2 separate regions of the Homo sapiens genome follow, and region 1 is linked to region 2. The links are contacts of gene promoters, found by promoter capture Hi-C in human tissues and cell types (Jung and others, 2019). All regions are on one chromosome and are shown on one strand. Each heading gives the region's core, a stretch centred on a gene start or on the middle of the fragment in contact. The rest is flanking DNA. Distances are from core to core; before and after follow the strand shown.

Region 1 (4,852 bases), core at 343-2,842, 580 kb before region 2:
ATATTATTTACAGCATTCCCATCAGCAATAAATAAGAGTTCTTTTTCCACATCCTCAACAGCAGTAGCATTATCAGTGTTTTGGATTTTGGCCATTCAAATGGGCGGGCAATTGGATCTCGTTGTTTTAATTTGCAATTCCTTATTGACATATATGTGGAGCATCTTTTCATATGCTCAGTTGCCATCTGTATATCTTCTTTGGTAAGGTGTCTGTTCAGGTTGTTGGCTCATTTTTTCCTTTTATTTACTGGGGAAAAGCATGAATGCAGTATGCTGCTACCACAAATTACGCAGTTGAGTTTCCCACATTTGGAGAAATCACAGGGATCAGCAAGTCTTCAGTGGAATAGAGAAGCCTTGCCCTAGGGAAAACTACCCTTGTGGTCATGGTATCTACCCTGCCTGGTAAGTCTTTTGGGCCTATTTTTCAATCGGGTGGCTTATTTTCTTGTTGAACTTTAAGGGTTCTTTGTATATTTTGAATCACAATCCTTTATCAGATAGGTCTTTTGCAAATATTTTCTTTCAGTCTGTGGCTTATCTTCAATTTTTTTTTTTTTTTTGAAATTTTATATTAAGATAACTTTTTATTCAATAGATCAATAACATTCAGTGTTAATAAATATAGGCAATAGGTATTCTCATCTATGTGCTTTTGGTGAGATTATAATAATGTAGTGAAGGCTTTTCGGAAGATAGTTGGGCAGCATATATTACTATTTAAAAAGTGCATTCCATTTGATCCAACAATTCTAGTTCTTAGTTTCTGTGGTAAGACAACAGTCCTATGTATACAAAGGGTATATGCTGGGGGCACGTTATACATAGGGTAGGACTGGAGGACTAAGGCAAAGAAACATATTCTCTGTTGGCTTCTGTACACTTTATATTACTTAAGTAATTATTTTAAGTGCCCAAGAATTTGAAAGTAAGGTGGGTCTAGAAGTCTGTCATAGGTTTCATCAACAAAATTAAGCCTTGTCTACTTTTTTTTTTATTTTTATTTTTAATTTTTTTTTAATTTATCAACTTTTTTCAGTAGCTGATATAGTTTAGCTCTGTGTCTCCACTCAAATCTTATCTCCAGTTGTAATCCCCACATGTCAAGGGAGGGAGGTGATTGAATTATGAAGGCAGTTTCCCCCATGCTGTTCTCGTGATAGTGAGTGAATTCTCATGAGATCTGATGGTTTTATGAATGGCAGTTTTTCCTGCATCCTCACTTCTCTCTCCTGCCACCAGGTGAAGAAGGTCCTTGCTTCCCCTTCTCCTTCCGCCATGATTGTAAGTTTCCTGAGGCCTCCCCAGCCATGTAGAACTGTGAGTCAATTAAACCTTTTTCCTTTATAAATTACCCAGTCTTGGATAGTAGCTTTATAGCAGTGTGAAAATGGACTAATACAGTAGCCTTTGACCTTTCTTCTTAAAGATAAGGATATTAGCAAATGTAAACTTTTTACCAACAAACACCTTTTAAAATAAATATCTTTTACATTTGCCAAAGTCTATAAACTTTCATTTTGTGGTACAACAGTAAATATAACTTATTTTATATATTTTAATTTTTCATTGTTCACTACCAGTACTTTTTTAAAAGTATATTATCTTTATAGATAGTCATTAACATATTGTTAAATTTATATTTTATAGAAGATAGTTCCTAGTATTGTTTAATTTGTAGAGATAAAAGAGAAAATATGCAGATCCAACTTCTAAGAGCATTCAATATTATACACCAAGCTTATTCCTGAAAACAATGACCCAGAAAACCACATGAAAGAGTTTTATTATGGATATCCTAAAACAAGTAACTATAAGTTTCAGATATATATAGAATATTCCACAGTTCCTATAATAAAAATTCATGAGTTTTCTGATCACCTTCAATGTTTGTACTGAGTTAACACACCGCTGTTACATTAAAGCAAACCATTAAAAATAAAGCTAGTTTTCTCTCTTTTTTTCAACTTTTATTTTAGACTCAGAGGTATATGTGCAGGTTTGTTACCTGGGTATATTGTGTGATGCTGAGATTTGGGGTATGAAAGATCATGTCATCCAGGTACTGAGCATAGTACCCAATAGTTAGTTACTACCAGTACTTTACTAACATGAATTTTTCTTCCTTGAATTTTTTTCTCTTTATTTAAACCTTCTGGAGTAGATTTTTTATTAGGTGTTTTTTTTTTGGTTTGTTTTCAAAGAACAACCCATTAATGCTTCATTATTCCCCAAAACTGTTTAAAATTAAGAAGGCCTTTCTGTTACCATAGACATAAAACGAATGGATTGGGCATTATATTTTTCAGTTTAATCTTTTCTCCTCCTCTTTAGGATTTTCTAAATATTCCTCCACTTTCCTCTGCCATTAAATGTTGTTATGGGAAAAGTAGGAGGTCAGATTAAACCCATTGTTTTTCTCTCAGGCTGAGTAGATGAGTATTTTATTATGATTATTATTTGGCCCAAAAGTTATGTCTGTTTAGTGAAATTATTATTATTACTATTGTTATTGTTATCCTGCTCTCAGATACATCTTTCTGTTGATTATTCAGCATAATTATTTACCTAGGAGATATTGTGCATGTTTAATCAGCAAATTCAAATTTTTACTTATTTTAACAAGGTTTTCTTCTTTTATAATTTCAAATAATCTGCTGTTTCATTAATTCTGTAAATTTAGCAATACCTATTACGCATATGTTGAGCTACTGTGTCATGTTTCTGTATTATCTCCTTTCTAATTTCTCTTTCTGTCATTTTCTATTTTTATTTTTAATAGGATTTTTATAAATCTTGACCTTCATATTATTGTACCATTCATGATTTTGTGGTTTTAAAGGTGGCTTTTCTTTTCCTAATTATTTATTGAAAATCTTTAATTCCTCCTGTGAATTCTGCCAGCTCACTTTTCATTTTTCCATGGTCATGTATTTTATTTTATATTTTTCATTCTTTTTTAAAGTTAAAATTATTTTTAAAGGATTTCTGTTCCTGGCTCTGATGGAGCAACACGGACAGATTTACCCTCTTACTTAAACAAAATACAGACAAAATTTATAAAGGATGGTTCTGAAACATGGGACAACAGGCAGTATAAACAGTAATTTTTCAAAGAAGATAAAAAAAGGAAGTAAACCCTATGGTTTCTCTACTGATTCCCTAGAAAGAGATTTCAAGCTATCAGTCTCACTCAATTGAGAAGACAGAGTTCATTGAGAATTTGGGGAAAGTCAAAGTGGACAGAATTCACAAAGAACTAAAAAAAAGAGTATTGTGCAGAGAAAGAGCTCCAGCTACCTCCACAGAGTTTCCCTTGAGTTTTCAGATCATGCGTTTGGTGAACCCACCTGAGGCAAGGGAAAGAACTACCAGAAAGAAGCAGGTGGAAAAATTCCTGATGTTCACATAGACCGGGAAATTTCTCAAGTTTTTGTCATCTGAATTGAAGAAATCTTATACTGTATGAGGTGTTGAAGAGAATACTCAGAAGGACAATGCCTCCGTAGTAGGACCAAACTAGCCTAGAGTAAAGGCTGGTCTGTCTTGTATGACTCCTTGTGAAACTATTCTGCTGAGTATGTCACCAATTTTCTTAGCGAATCTAAGTGATTCCAAGTAATAAGTTGAAATTTTCACTATTTGTATGTTTTTATTGATTATTCATTGTGGTTCTAATAGTTTTTGGTTTATAATATTTTGTTGGTCTGTTATTTGCTGCATAGTGGTTTATGATAGTTATATCTTTATTGGATCTTTAACAATGTAGAATAAGTTCTTTGTTTCATTTCATGTTATTTGTTTCTAAATTTTACTTCTTATTTAACAGTAATGTTGCAAATCTTTAAAAATGTTTTACTTTATTTGTAAGGAAAACACCTAAAGCAAAGTGAAACAATAAGTGATGTAGGATCTATTATTATTATTTTCCATCATGTGAATCTTTGTCTTAACAGAGAGGCTTCGTCTATTTATATTTGTTGTTACAATTGATTTCTTTCATCATTCTGTTATTTCAGTGTTTCTCTTGAAAAATAGGTTCTTGTTATTCAATGATTTAGTTTTCACTTTATGTATCGTTTTCTTTATTTTGTCCTTCATATTTTGCAAGCTATATAGCCTCTGTTAAATTCCATTAATGGATATCTTTAAGCACTCTTTGACATGTAATTTTCTAATGTCTCAGTAAATAAAGAATTTGTCAACATAAAATGTGTGTGTAGGCCAGGTGCGGTGGCTCATGCCTGTAATCCCAGAACTTTGGGAGGCCAAGGTGGGTGGATCACCTGAGGTCAGGATTTTGAAACCAGCCTGACCAACATGGCGAAACCCCGTCTCTACTAAAAGAATACAACACTTAGCCGGACGTGGGGGCGCGCACCTGTGGTCCCAGCTACTTGGGAGTCTGAGGTGGGAGAATCGCTTGAACCTGGGAGGTGGAGGTTGCAGTGAGCCGACATCGCACTATTGCACTCCAGCCCGGGTGACAGAGCAACTCCATCTCAAAAAAAAAAATTAAAAAAAAAACACAAAAATGTATGTGTATAATCCTTGCACATACTGCTACCAGGATTATTTTTATCTCTAATCCACATATATTGCTTTATCTGCAGGAAAATTAGTTTTTAGAATTTGATGTAGGCTTATTTCCGTCTCTATTTCCTGCTCAATTGTGTTCTGGGATTTGGCATCTCTGCTCTGATAAATAAAGATATCAGGGAAACGGTACAGTACAGAACATTACTGTCCTTCAGATCATTAATGGAAGGTGGAGGAATTACTGCAAACCTTTCTTGTTGGCACAAGTTCTTCATCTTTGAGTTAGCCATCAGACAGTGGGCAGGTATGAA
Region 2 (4,525 bases), core at 853-3,352:
ATAAATGCCACCAGTGAATGACAGATGGTAACCAACTTCAGGAAAATGAAAAGTTGTTGGAATATTGACCTACAAACCAGAGTAGGACAAAGTAAAATAAGAATATGCACCAAGGCCGGGCGCGGTGGCTCACGCCTGTAATCCCAGCACTTTGGGAGGCCGAGACGGGCGGATCACGAGGTCAAGAGTTCAAGACCAGATCAGCCTAACCAAGATGGTGAAACCCTGTCTCTACTAAAAATACAAAAAAAATTAGCCGGGCGTGCGCGCGCCAGTAATCTCAGCTACTCAAGAGGCTGAGGCAGAAGAATCGCTTGAACCCAGGAGGCGGAAGTTGCAGTGAGCCGAGATCGCGCCACTGCGCTCCAGCCTGGGCGACAGAGCGAAACTCCTTCTCAAAAAAAAAAAAAAAAAAAAAAACGCATTAGGGAGAAATGCTATTCCTACAAGCTGAGCCGAGCTAGAGGTTTCAAGCTTGAAGTCAGTGGGCCCAAGGATCATAAACTGGCAGCGCGACAATAACCATGGAAATCACTCAGTCCTCCTCCCTCCCCAATCTCCAAGCAAAAAGTCCAAAATAGTTATGTTTGTCTCCAAGATAAAATCAAAAGTTTTTTAGAAATGAAGGGGTAGGACCCCTACTGTGAATACTGGTGTTAAGAGTACACAGCAGAAACTTAGGCTTAATAATTTTACAGTTCACACGGAGGAAATAAACAGCTATACTCAGCAGAGAAGTTGCTCCACCACTACTGCAAAGCCTGAAGCAAAAGGCAGGTTCCCAGTCTACCCATCTGGTACCTGCTCACATGCCCTCAACTGAAACCTTCCTATCTAGGCAACCTGGTACAGAGCCAAAAGTCAATTAGCGACCCATGTACTGAAAACAAGACCTATTACTCATATTAATCAAAATATAGACAGATAACCAGTGCCCATCACATGTTCGAGAAAAAGCAACAGAAGGAAACAGGACCAAAAAGACACAGAACAATTGACCAACAGTAAGTAAATTATTTAGGAAATAGATTTTTCTAATTATCATCTTTGTAGATTCAAGACTTTTAATATCTATAAAATAAGAAAAGGCTGCTGCACCTAGGACCCTGTGTTTACTAACTCAAAGAATAAAAACTGGAGAAGGGAAGAACAGAAGGAGGCAGTGTAAGACACCATAAATCCCTAAATTTAACCACAATAGACAAATTATTAAAAAAAAGGAGGTAGATAGTAAATATAATATATTGTCCACCCTGGAAAGGGGACAGGGGGAATAGTGATTTTACTTTTCATTTTACATTTTCAAGTTGTTTTAACTATGTACATGTATTAATACTAATAATAATGTTTTAAGTATTAACCATAAAAAAATGGCACGGGACACCACCACCCCAAACAATTGCTATTTAAACTCTCTCGTGATACTAACAATGATTTACAGAGAATGGCAAATTTCAAAATCAGAAGTCAAGAAGGGTCCCTGCCACTCGTTTTCCTCAAAAGGCAGATAAAATATTTTAGAGCCTTTTTGAAAACTTGTATATGACTATAAAAACCCGAGAGGCAAAGCAAAGCCTACAGAATACGCCAGAAAAAAAAGCTGCTTCCCACCCCCAACTCAAGGTCTAGGGCAAAGGAGCCGGTAGTAGGAGGGTGGAATACCTGAACGCCTGGATGCCGCGGCAGCGCGAGGACCTGATAGTCACAGAGGCCAAGGCCAGAGAGAGAGACACCGCGGCTAAAGCCTTTCCCAGGAGGCGTCCCGCCATGAGCGCCCCGAGGGCGGCTTTGCGATGCTAGGTCGCTCTTAGTTGGTGCCTCCGCCTCCCCACACCCCACAGCTCCGAGTCCCGGCCGCGGGTATCTGATGGGCACTAGGACCTGTCTGCCGTTGGGTTCCCGAACGGGAGTAGCTGTGCCTATCTATAAATCACAGATCAAGAGCCCTCCCACGATAAGAGTCCACCGCTTTCCCCAGTGCATCGAGAAAAATCCAGACCAGCACGTGACGCCGAAGCCTCCAGCGCCAGCTGCCTGGGGAAACCGCGGCCACGAACCTCGTAACTTTCTCTCTGCGTAATGGCGCTTTACGGCCGCGCCGCAAAGCAAAGGTCGTGCGTTGCCGGCTTGGTAGCGCCTTCCTTCTCCGACTTCCCAGACTTCCCAGTCTGCGCAGGCTTACTTGGGGACGCAGGGAACTACCAAGAAAGTGTCAGAGGAAAGGAAAGGTGAAACAGACGAGGAACTGGAACGGGAATAAGTGGGAAAGAAGCCAAGGGGTTTGAGAGAGACTTGCTGCCCTGGGTTTTTGGTTTTTGTTTTTTGAGACAAGAGTCTGGCTCTGTCGCCCAGGCTGCAGTGCAGGGGCGCGATTTCAGCTCATTGCCGCCTCAACCTCCTGGGCTTAAGCGAGTCTCTTGTCTCAGCCCCCGACGTAGCTGGGACTACAGGCACACACCGCCATACCTGGCTAATTTTTGTATGTTTTGTAGCGACAGATTTTTGCCATGTTGCCCAGGCTGGTCTCCAACTCTCAAGCTCAAATAATCCAACTGTTTGGGCCTCCCACAGTGCTGAGGTTACAGGCCTCAGCCAACGCGCCTGGCCCTGCTCTGGTTTTTTTAGGGAGTAAGTTGTTGCGGAAGGACGCAGGTCTTAGCCATATTTTTGAATAATACTTCGTTATGGGAATGAAACCGCCTTTGCAAAATTATGACTGATTTGGGAGGCCGAGGCGGGATCACTTGCAGTCAGGAGTTCAAGACCAGCCTGGCCAACGTGGTGAAACCTCGTCTCTACTAAAAATACAAAAATTAGCTGGGCATGGTGGTAAACGCGCCTGTAGTCCCAGCTGCTCAGGAGGATGAAGCAGGAGAATCGCTTGAACCCGGGAGGTGGAGGTTGCAGTGAGCCAACGTCGCACCACTGCACTCCACCCTGGGCGACAAGAGTGAAACTACGTATCAAAAAAAAAAAGAAAAAACCTCTGCTCCCTGAATGCTCAGGGAGACTGATTTGAGTAATAATAGAACTCCGGTCTCACACAGCTGGCTCTGCATGAATTACTCTTTCTCTATTGCAATTCCCCTGTCTTGATGAATCAGCTCTGTCTAGGAAGCGGGAAAGGTGAACCCCTTGGGCGGTTACAGCAAGAGGAGATAGTCCAGAGACTCAGCCCTCGTATCTTGAAGGGTTTCTTGGTTTTTTGTTTTTGTTTTCTTAACCAAGTTGTCTGCTCCAATTGCTGGATTTCATTCACAAGGCTTTGCTAGGACCAGTTGTGGCCCTTGGAAACTCGTGGAGGAGAAAAGCTGTGAAAATAGGCACACATGCTGGAGGAGGAACAGAGGGCAACACACATAATACTGGATAATAAACTTGAGAGGCAAAAATTAAACAAACCGACAAACAAAGTTGGAAACCCAGACTGTCCAAAGCAGCTTGTAATCAGGCTTACTTCATTTATATTAGCTTATTGATGTGGCAACTATTTGACTTTTACTTACATGATCCGCTGTTTCTGTGGTGTGGTTCCAATACACCGACGTTACAAAACTTTGACCATCTTAAAAGCCAGATTAATCGAATTTTAACAACCATTGTTCTGAAAACTGCAGAACTCTCGACAGGTATTGACTGTTCAAACTACACTGTCAACCTAGACGCTGAGGCACGAGATAGAACTTAAAGCATTTACTTTAGCCAAAGTGAGGACAGCTGCCCAGAAGACCCAGACCCAAGTAACCTTAAATGTGAACTCCTGTCCACCTTTGTTACAATCAGGTTTTTAAAGGCAAAAAGGGGACAGGGAGTTGACTGATACAAAGTTGTAAAGAATTACTGGTTTGTAGAAATAGTATTGGTTAGTGGTTGGCTATACGTTAAGCTATAGGGTGCGAGTTACAGTGTCCAGTGTACCATTATTAGGTTAATTTTTAGCTACTTGTGGCTATAGTAAGCAGTTTAAAGAGATGAATGCATAACAAAGTGGGGAGTAGGATGTAATTGCTGTCTCATTTTAATGTCTCTCTGGGCCTGGTAATTTAAAAGGATTTACCTTCCTCATATAAAAGTTCTTTTCTCGGCACTGAGAGATTTGATTATACTCTAGCATAGCTTCCAGTAGCTTAAGGCCTTGTCCCTAGGCTGACCCCAGATCCCGTTAAAATGCTTCCCTGAAATCAAAACTCAATGCCTGGAGAATTTACTGTTTGTTCCAGCCAAAACTTGATGATAGGCAGATAGGTCCCTGAACCCCTTCTTAGAGCAGTCACTTTAGAAAGCTTGTTTCTCTACCCTTGGTGATGTAAGTCTACCACCCAACACAGTTTCCTCAAAGACTTGGGAGCCATCTCTTTGAAATGCAAATATTCAGAAAGATAACTCACCCTAGCTCCTAGTCCCTGTACAAGACCGGTACCTTGCTTTAGCTAGCACCACTGCCTCCTATCATAAAGATAGAAGTTTGTTTCTCCTCTGGATAAGAGCCAGTTAACAAACCCAAATGGCCTAATCACATCAATCA

What was found. The method cuts DNA at HindIII sites, captures the fragments that hold promoters and counts their contacts. A contact is called where the count stands out against the background at its distance.
Region 1: a fragment that was not itself captured here is called in contact with the fragment with the promoter of NUDT9 in region 2 in 1 of the 25 tissues and cell types used here (liver).

What each region holds. Positions count from the first base shown.
Region 1 is chr4:87,995,800-88,000,651 of GRCh38, reverse strand. It overlaps the pseudogene RNU1-36P. Among named protein-coding and RNA genes, the nearest start is that of PKD2, 9.4 kb to the left of the region's middle. The HindIII fragment of the contact is 5,272 bases long and covers 1-4,228 here.
Region 2 is chr4:87,420,150-87,424,674 of GRCh38, reverse strand. NUDT9 (nudix hydrolase 9) reads right to left here and starts at 2,102. Exons shown (of 8, transcript NM_024047.5): 1 at 1,663-2,102. The coding sequence starts at 1,769. RefSeq lists enhancers at 1-232, 233-736, 1,280-2,214, 2,284-2,333. The HindIII fragment of the contact is 9,950 bases long and covers 1-4,525 here.